3 separate regions of the Homo sapiens genome follow, and all the other regions are linked to region 3. Evidence: promoter capture Hi-C in human tissues and cell types (Jung and others, 2019). All regions are on one chromosome and are shown on one strand. Each heading gives the region's core, a stretch centred on a gene start or on the middle of the fragment in contact. The rest is flanking DNA. Distances are from core to core; before and after follow the strand shown.

What was found. Contacts are between HindIII fragments. The study calls those that stand out against the background at their distance.
Region 1: a fragment that was not itself captured here is called in contact with the fragment with the promoter of BOP1 in region 3 in 1 of the 25 tissues and cell types used here (spleen).
Region 2: the fragment with the promoter of ZNF250 here is called in contact with the fragment with the promoter of BOP1 in region 3 in 1 of the 25 tissues and cell types used here (spleen).

What each region holds. Positions count from the first base shown.
Region 1 is chr8:144,997,936-145,000,734 of GRCh38, reverse strand. It overlaps the pseudogene ZNF252P and the pseudogene TMED10P1. Among named protein-coding and RNA genes, the nearest start is that of ZNF252P-AS1, 3.5 kb to the left of the region's middle. The HindIII fragment of the contact is 5,765 bases long and covers 1-2,799 here.
Region 2 is chr8:144,899,754-144,902,853 of GRCh38, reverse strand. It overlaps ZNF250 (zinc finger protein 250), which reads left to right and starts at 1,401. Exons shown (of 6, transcript NM_001109689.4): 1 at 1,401-1,455. LOC124902042 reads right to left here and starts at 1,230. Exons shown (of 1, transcript XM_047422534.1): 1 at 573-1,230. The coding sequence starts at 1,172. The coding sequence ends at 573. RefSeq lists silencers at 468-547, 1,608-1,717 and enhancers at 244-847, 848-1,450, 1,451-2,055. The HindIII fragment of the contact is 10,274 bases long and covers 1-3,100 here.
Region 3 is chr8:144,290,054-144,292,845 of GRCh38, reverse strand. BOP1 (BOP1 ribosomal biogenesis factor) reads left to right here and starts at 1,408. Exons shown (of 16, transcript NM_015201.5): 1 at 1,408-1,574. The coding sequence starts at 1,476. It overlaps HSF1 (heat shock transcription factor 1), which reads right to left and starts at 1,242. Exons shown (of 13, transcript NM_005526.4): 1 at 972-1,242. The coding sequence starts at 1,088. RefSeq lists enhancers at 445-504, 107-763 and silencers at 895-1,054, 1,165-1,664. The HindIII fragment of the contact is 19,250 bases long and covers 1-2,792 here.

The DNA.
Region 1 (2,799 bases), core at 71-2,570, 710 kb before region 3:
CTCTGATTTGTTGTCACTTTATCGGAGGTGTCTTCCCTGGCCATCCTGTGTAAAATATCTCTTACCACCAGTCGCTGCCCTCGTGCTGCGTCATTAATTTTTTGTATCCTTTGTCATTACCTGACACCACCTGGGCGTTGTGTCTGTGTGTCATGCATATGTGTTAACTTCTCCATTTGCTCATTCGCTGCCTTAGCACCAGAGCCTGGTCCGCTGTTCTCAGCTGTTTGCCGTCTGCGCAGGACCTCATAGGTGGGCCTGGGAAACGCAGTCCATTGTCTCTCCTGGCCAAGTGCACTGCCACAGTCCTGGCTTTCACATGGTGGCCTCAGGATGCTGTCATCCCAGGGGCCTCAGGAAGGCCTCTCTTGAGACATGGAGAGGTATGGCAGAAAATTAGGGAGGGGATATGGTCTCAGAGACCACTGGCTACTTAGTTCATCCACCTTTCCTGGGGTGTTCAGGCAGCTCATAATTGGGTCTCTGCTACCACAAAATGTCTAGGCTTAGAAGTCTCAGAGCACCTATGGGGAGCAGAAGGTTGGTCAGGCTCCATCACCCTCCTCTCCCTACAGCTCTGCCCACACCTCAGGACAAGCTCAGAGACCTAGTGATGGCTGTCATGCAGCTCCTTCTTGGTGGGCTCCAAGTGAGTGGTCCTCATGGAGTCTCTTCCATGTGACCTCAGCCTTTTCTCAGCAGGAGTCTGTCTATAAGGAGCTGGTCCCAGAGGGTGGACAGCTCCCTGTCTCCACCGATGTCCTCAGTTCCTGAGTTCAAGTCCCTGAAATGTACTTCTCACTGTTTTACTGTCCCTGGACCAGGTACAGTAGAGGTCAGAGTTGGGGCACACCAAGATGAGCCAATATAGTGTCTGCCTCAAAGAGTTCACATTAGTGGGGAAGACAGGTACATGTTCCCAGAGGGATTTTACCAGTCCTGAGCCTAATATCTTCTCCCTCCAGGTCCTGACCTGAGGGCTGCATCAAGATCTTGTCATTCCACATCGTGGTTTCCTTTGAGGATGTGGCTGTACCCCTCTCCCAGGAGGAGTGGGACTGTCTGATCCCTGCTCAGAGGGGCCTCTACAAGGATGTGATGATGGGGACCTATGGGAACCTACTCTCATTAGGTAAGTTCCCTCCCTGGGGCTCAGCTCCTGGGCTTCCTGCTCCTTAACCTTGAGGATCAAGCTTGGGGCTCAGAGGCTCCTCACCCCCTGGGCCCAAAGACCAGACATTTTGACCATGGTACCATGCAGGTCTGGTTTGCACAGAGAGGGGGACAGGTGGTACTGGGACCCTCCTTGATTTTTTTTTTTAATAGGCAATGTCTCACTCTGTTGCCCATCCTGGAGTGCAGTGGTGAGACCATAGCTCACTGTAACCTTGACGTCTTTGGTTGAAGAGATCCTCCTACCTCAGCCTCCCAAGTACCTGAGACTACAGGCATGGGCCACCATGCCTGTCTTATTTTACTTTTTTAGAGACAGAGCCTCTGTGTTGCCCAGGTTGGTCTCAAACTCCTAGCCTCAAGGAATCCTCCCACCTTGGCCTCCCATGCCTTTCCAACCCTCCCTGATTTATAGAAGGAGAATATTATTCATTGCACACCTAGTACCTCCCTATCCCCTGAATTAATCTTTCTGCATCTTGATGATCGGTGGTAGGATACACAGTTTATAAACGAACCTGAGGCTAACAAATACTGTCACTTTTCTTAAGTTTACACAGCCTATTGGTGGCAGATCTGGGATATGGATCTGTTCGGTTTCAGAGCCCTGCTTTCCTTTCACTGGAATGTGCTCTTCGCTTTAGCCCTTTTTTTTTTTTTTTTTTGGTTTCTGCTAGCCTTTATTTGAGAAAATTTACACAAAAATCCCCAATGCAACATTTACAAGTGAATCTGTATAAATCCCATATGCCTCTTTCCCAAACTGAAAAATGGCTTTATGACAGGGGTCCATGACAATGGTATAAAAATACTTACTTAAACTGCATCATTCTCATTTATATTATACAGACCATTTTGGATAATATGCTCAAAAGTGGAGGAAAGCACATAACACCCCTGTTTTTAAAGATTATTTGCTCTTGTATCAGTCTTTTGTCAAAGGCAAATACTTTTACTTCTTGGATAAAACCAAGGTATAATATCAATTAACTTTTAAACCAAAAGCACAAAATGTCCTAGTTGATAGTTTTGGCATGAGTAAAGGGAAGGGACATGAGAGAACATCAGCTCCTACAAAGCTTAAGTTTAGGGTCACACTTGGGAACAAAAGCATCAACAAAACAAAATATTCTCTTCTCCTATCTTCTTGACATTTTGTCACATCAGAAGAACATAACTAACAGAGTAGCTTTCATTGCTCCTGAAAAGGGGAAAGGCACCAGTCAGAAATAGGAAAGAAAATCTTGTTAGGTTAATGGTACATGATAGAATTTCACATTAAAAAGTTTAATGATGGAGGATGGGCGTAGTGGCTTACACATGTAATCCCAGCACTTTGGGAGGCTGAGGTCAGTGGATCACTTGAGGTCAGGAGTTCAAGACCATCCCGGCCAACACGGTGAAACTCCATCTCTACCAAAAATACAAAAACCAGCCAGGTGTGGTGGCATGCACCTGCACTCCCAGCCACTCTGGAGGCCGAGGCGGAAGAACTACCCGAACCCAGGAGGTGAAGGTTGCAGCAAGCTGAGATAGCACCATTGCACTTCAGCCTGGGCATCGCAGCAAGACTCTGTCCCAAAAAAAAAAAAAAAAAAAAAAAAAAGTTTAAGAATGGAATCCAAG
Region 2 (3,100 bases), core at 152-2,651, 610 kb before region 3:
TGCCAACCTGTCCTCCCTAACCCGTCGACTTTGACCTAAGCCCACATGTGGGAGCCACATTTGAGCCATGCCTCCGGTCTCCTTGGCCGTCGACCTTGAAATAATAAAGCCTTCTCTTTTCTCAAAAACTGGTGCCACCGTTTTGGCTTCTAGTGCGCCAGGCAACGGGCCCATTGCTCGAAACGCGCGTGGTGGATGGTAGCTCCGTGAAGTGCGAACCCCTGCCCGCAAGGGCTGCTAAGTTCGCTGAAGCGTAGCACAGACTTCGCGTCTGCCTGGTGCGCGGCAAGTACGGAATTATCGCCACATCCTCCCGGCCTCCGCTCCCAACAGCACGGGCCGGGCACTCGCTTCAAGCCTACCCCCTAACCTTAAGCCTTCCCCGCCGCCCCCACGCAGCCCCCAGCCCCGCCCTGTGGGGAAGCCTCTTGAGAGTCTGGGCCCGCCCACGCGCCCAATGGACGACGCGGACCTGACCTTCGGGAGTGGGGCCAGCAGAAGGTGGACTAGGCGTCAGCCTTCCCGTCCCCTGACACCGCTCCAAACCAGCCCCACCCTCCCTGCCGCGGCTGTCAGGTCCTGGGCTGTGCCCGAAGCCTCCACACGGGTGTGGCCCGCGCCCTCGTGAAGGCCCGCCCCTCTCCCCCAGGTGCGCGGTGTAAACACACCAAAAAGCAAACACCAGGGCCGAGTGGGCGACGGAGACGGTCGCTGTTCAGTGACGCCCCCTGTCGGGAGCACGCCGGGCCGGACACAGCGAAGAGCGGCTGCGCCTCGGACCTCGCAGCACTCAGCCTCCTAAGTGGGAGGAATAACCTCACGCAAGTCATCAAACAAGAGGACTTCAGTGTTGCAACGAAGGAAGAGAAAGGGCCCCTGAGAAGGCGACATTCGCACTGCAGCGGCGCAGGGACCAGCCAGGCGGCTGAGGGCAAGGTCGTTCCCAGCAGCGGGAACCGCAAGGGCAAAAGGCTCGGAGGGGGGAACGAGCTCGAGTTCCAGGACGGCCGAAGCCAGCGCAAGTCGAGGAGGGACTGCGGGGCCGGCAGGGGTGTCCTCCACAGGGCGACGGCGGCAGGAGCTCGGGAACCGGGACTGCGAGCGGGTAAGGCTCGGCGATGGGCTGTAACCTCCGCGCCCGGAAGTGCGGCCGGGGAGCCGGCCGGGCCCATTGCCCAGAGGTGTTCGGCCCCTCTAGGGATCGCGGAGGTCTGGCTCTCGGTGGCTCCTGAGAGCTCCCTGCAGTCGGTCACCGAGAAAGGCTTCGGGCGGGCAGGCGGGCCAAATGACGTAAACATGCTTGCCCTCCAGGATTGGCGAACTCGGCTGTGGGGGCGGGAACTGAGGGGCAGGAGCCCCCAGGGATTGGCGGCTGCGCAGACGGGGCGGGGCAGCCCTTTGTCTGAAGGTGCTGCGGGATGCCGTTCCTTCGCGCGTGAGGCTGCGGCTCTGACGGTGAGTGGGGGGCGCGTGTCGTCGCCGGCCAGGACCCTCTCCCATCACGGACACCGGAGCCGGTGCGTCCTCCACACGAATCGTGGACTCTTCCCCGCGAGCACGCACTGCCTCCTGCGTTTACGCTGGTCCCCTCCCCTCACGGACGCGCGGCGGCCTCCTCCCCAGGGCCAAGGCCGCGCCCTCTCCCCCGTTCGGGGTTCCCACCCTTCCCCTCGCCCGGCCTTGGACCCCCTCAGGCCCTCCCGCACCCCCGTCCGCCTCGGACGGCCTCGGTCCCTTCCCCGCCCCTACCCCCTTGGGCCCCGTCAGACCGGCGTCCCTCCCACCTTGGATCTCCTCAGATCTCCGGCCTTCCTCCCCCTCGTGCCCTCCCGCGCGCTTTCTACCGGGCGCCGTGCCTAGGGCCAGGATGGCCGGAGTCCTAGGGGCGCAGTCCGGACCCCCGGGCCGCTCTTCTTGCCGCGCTCCTCGGGGTCTCGCGTCCCCTGGGATGGGCCCGGAAAGGGGTGGGGAGCTTCCCCAAAATATAAAAATGGAGGTTTTTTCTGTTTGATGCACATCCTGAGGAGCCCCATGAAGACCCCGGCGGCGCACCGGGAGCGCCACTTTACTTAGCTATAAAAAGTCTTCCCGCGTCAAGACGAAAACGAGCTGCTTTCGTTTCAGCAGTTGGTCGAGTGTGCTACTTGCCGGGTGTCTTATCCTCTCCCCATTTTGCTGTCGATGCTGTCTTTTCTGTTACTGTGTTAGAGCCCTATTTTAATGAATGAGCCCAACTCTTTGCAACACAGCAAATATTTTCCTTGTTGTTTATTGGCTTAATTTTAAAATTGAAAATAATATGCAATACTTCTTCTAATGCAGGCATGTCAGAAATATATAAAAGTCATCCCCCCCGACACTCTGCCAGTGTATGAAGAGGCAGGAGCTGTGAACAGTTTCAGAATTTTTGAATGCCGTTAGAGCTTTAGGCACGCACGCACACCCTTTTTTCTGTCATCAAAGGGAAGCTGGTGTCGTTTGACTAACACCAGGGGCGGCAGGGGGCGCTCCACTCGTCCTCCGCCGGGTGGGTACTCGCAGATTTTTCAGTTCGTAACTTGTCTTCTGGACATAGGTTTCTCTGTCCGGTGGTCTCTACGAAGTGGGTAAGGGTGGGAGATTGCCATTGACATTCCCGCCCTGGACGGGACTCTGGTCCTGTGGGCTTTGACAGGTCACTGCATTCCTGCCAGGTCGACGTTTTGCGTTTATTGGTGAGATTGAAATCCCTTCATTTGTGTTTTCGCCATTTGTATTTCTTTGTGATTTGCCAGCTCATATTTTTTTCCATGTATGTTGAAAACATGCTTCTCAATTTGTCTTTTGACTCTGATTATGGTGTTTGATTCTGGTTTGGGCTTTTTCAAAATAGAAAATTTAAAATTTTTAGGAGTCAAATATTTTGCCTTAAGGCATTTTGGGCTTTGTGCTGTGTTTTAAAGGGCTTTCCCCACTCCAAGATTATTTTTAAAATAAACTCTTGTTTTTCTGTGGTACTTGTAAAATGTTGGATACGTCTGGAATTTATTTTATTGTGGGGTGAGTTTGGAATACAGCTTTTGGAATTCCTTTTTTCCTCTAAATCATAGCCATTTCTAAC
Region 3 (2,792 bases), core at 159-2,658:
AGACCACAGGCAAGCACCACCACGCCCGGCAAATTTTTTGTATTTTTAGTAGAGCTGGGGTTTTGCCATATTGTCCGGGCTGGTCTCGAACTCCTGGCCTCAAGTGATCCACCCGCCTCCGCCTCCCAAAGTGCTGGGATTACAAGCAAGAGTCACCCCACTCGGCCAGTGTGGCCCTTCTTCAGGTCATCACTTGCCAGCCGCAGGCGGTGGCTCTGCCCCTCACCGGACACGACGTCACAGCCGGGATGTGAACAGCAGATTCTGATCTCCAACTCCAGACAATCACTGATTTACTTCTGCAAACCGGAGCTGTCCGGTCTTGCAGGGTCGGACCATGTAAACAAGCCTGCTGCCAGGCAACTGAAGACAGAAACACGAATAAAGATGCCCCATAAGGAATGAAAAACAAAACTCCTCTTGGGAAACCCAGATTTGGGATTCGGAAACGGGCTTGAGATCAACCTGAAGCTTCATGACGTCTTACTGTTTCCACTGCCTTTCCTGTTCCACTACAGCAACGCCCTCCACTTCACGTGCCAAGTCCTGACTTTCTCCTAATAGTTGCCGACCCAGCACCCCGTAGGCTGTCCCCTGGGGACGCCGATGTCCTCTGGGGCATAGCGTCCGCTGGCGAAGCCGGGTGCTTGCCCTAAGCGCGGACACTTCCGCAACCGCCCAACAGTTAGCAGAAGCCCAATACAAGAGACGCCCCATTCTCCCCATCCCAGGGAAACTTCGCTGGGGCAGGGGTTGAACCGAGTGTGGGTCTCGTAGCCGCTTTCCCAACTTAAGGCTCTGGGTCTGAGCAGGCTCGGGACCCGCCGCCCTTCTCTGGCGGGGGCAGGGCAGGCTCACCGCGCGTAAGCTGAAGTGCGGCAGGGCCCCTCCCCGCAGCCCTCCCGCGCCGTCCGCCGCGGCCCTGCTCCCTCCCGGTCCCCACGGGCCCCGCGCCCGCGCGCTGCCCTCACCGGGCTCCAGCAGATGAGCGCGTCGGTGTCCGGGTCGCTCACGAGGGTCCACAGCTTGGTCAGGAAGGCCGGGACGTTGCTGGGCCCCGCCGCGCCGGGGCCCACGGGCAGATCCATCTCGAGCAAGGAGGGAATAGGCGGAGGGAGCGGCCGCAAAGAGGGGCCGAGGGCCGGGCTAACGCCGTCGCCGCGCCAGCCTTCCGGGCCGCGCCGCCGCCCGCTGCGCACACACAGCCCCGGGGCCCAGCATGGCCGCCGCCATCTTGCAACGGGCGCGCTCCCGCCGCCGCCGCTGCCGCCCTCCCGCGTCACCCCCGGCGCGAGCACGCAGGCCCCGACCCCGCCCTGGTCCCCGGCCCAGCCGCGCGCCTGCGCGTGTTGGTCCCACCCCCTTCCCTCCACCCGCCAATCGGGGCCGGGCTGGGCGGGGCGCGTCCTCCTGCGCACGCGGCCCGGTCGCTGTCGGAAGCGGCTGTGCGGGTGGCGGCCGGCGCGCGGTGGGGCATGGCGGGTTCGCGGGGTGCGGGGCGCACGGCGGCGCCGAGCGTGCGGCCGGAGAAGCGGCGGTCTGAGCCCGAACTGGAGCCTGAGCCCGAGCCGGAGGTGACTGTGGCGATGCGGGGCGGCGGGGCGCGTCCCTAGAGGGCCCGGCGGGCACGTGGCCGCGCTGGGGCGGGTGGGCCCGGCTTCTGTCACCTGGGCGCCCGCGCCCAGTGAATCGGTCTTGGGCGTGGGTGCAGCTCCTCTATCGGGGGGTCTCAGGCAGAGCGGACTGCGGGGTAAAGGACGGCGTCCGGGAAGCAAAGAAACGGGGGAGCGGGGAGTGGGGACGGGGCGCCCCTTGCAGCAGCCTCTCCAGCCGTTCCATTTGTGCATCCTGCCAATAAAAGGGCTCGGCTTGCGCTCCCAGTAAATGCTTAACCTACGTATACGCTAGTTAATTGCGTTTTTATGCTCATGGGATAGACATGAGAATAAGAAAACCTGAATAGAACCCAGTGTCTGCTGCATTTGCTGTATTAGAACTCACTGTTGCTCTCTGCTAGCTCAGCCCTGTCTTGGTTGTGGGGATCATCAAATTGGGTGGTGGAGGGGATGGACAGCCAGCCCCTCACAGCCCCCTCGGCCGCGGCCGCGCTGGGTTGTTGAAACTGCCCCATTGCTTTGTGAAGCGAATTCAACTCATCCTGGCTCCCATGGGCTGAATGGCCCGCAGGCCACTCTAGGCGCCAGGTTCTGCGACTTCCACCCTTGGACTAAACGGTCCTCAGGAGCCAGTTGTTTGCGCCCAGGCCACGGATGCCATTTCCACTAGTTATTGTGATTGTGTAGCCGACTGAATACCAAGACACATCATGACTCTGTGTGAGAGAGGCATTGTGTGAACACTCGGTATGCAATAGCTAATACATGCAGGTCGTACCTTAAGTGAGACTTGTAAACTATTAGGAAAACAGTAAAATCTAGAATTCTGCATTCAACTGCTTCCTTTTTCTTTTCTTTTCCTTTTCTTTCTTTTTTCTTTTTTTTTTTTTTGAGACAGAGCCTGGCTCTGTTGCCCAGGCTAGAGTGCAGTGGTGCAGTCTTGGCTCACTGCAGCTTCCACCTCCTGGCTAACTCAGCCTCCTGAGTAGCTGGGATTAGAGGTGCCCGCCACCACCAGCTAATTTTTGTATTTTTAGTAGAGATGGTTTCACCATGTTGGCCAGGCTGGTCTTGAACTCCTGACCTCAGGTGATCCACCCGCCTCAGCCTCCCAAAGTGTTGGGATTACAGGAGTGAGCCACTGTGCCTGGCCTTCAACTGCTTCCTAAGAGTCTA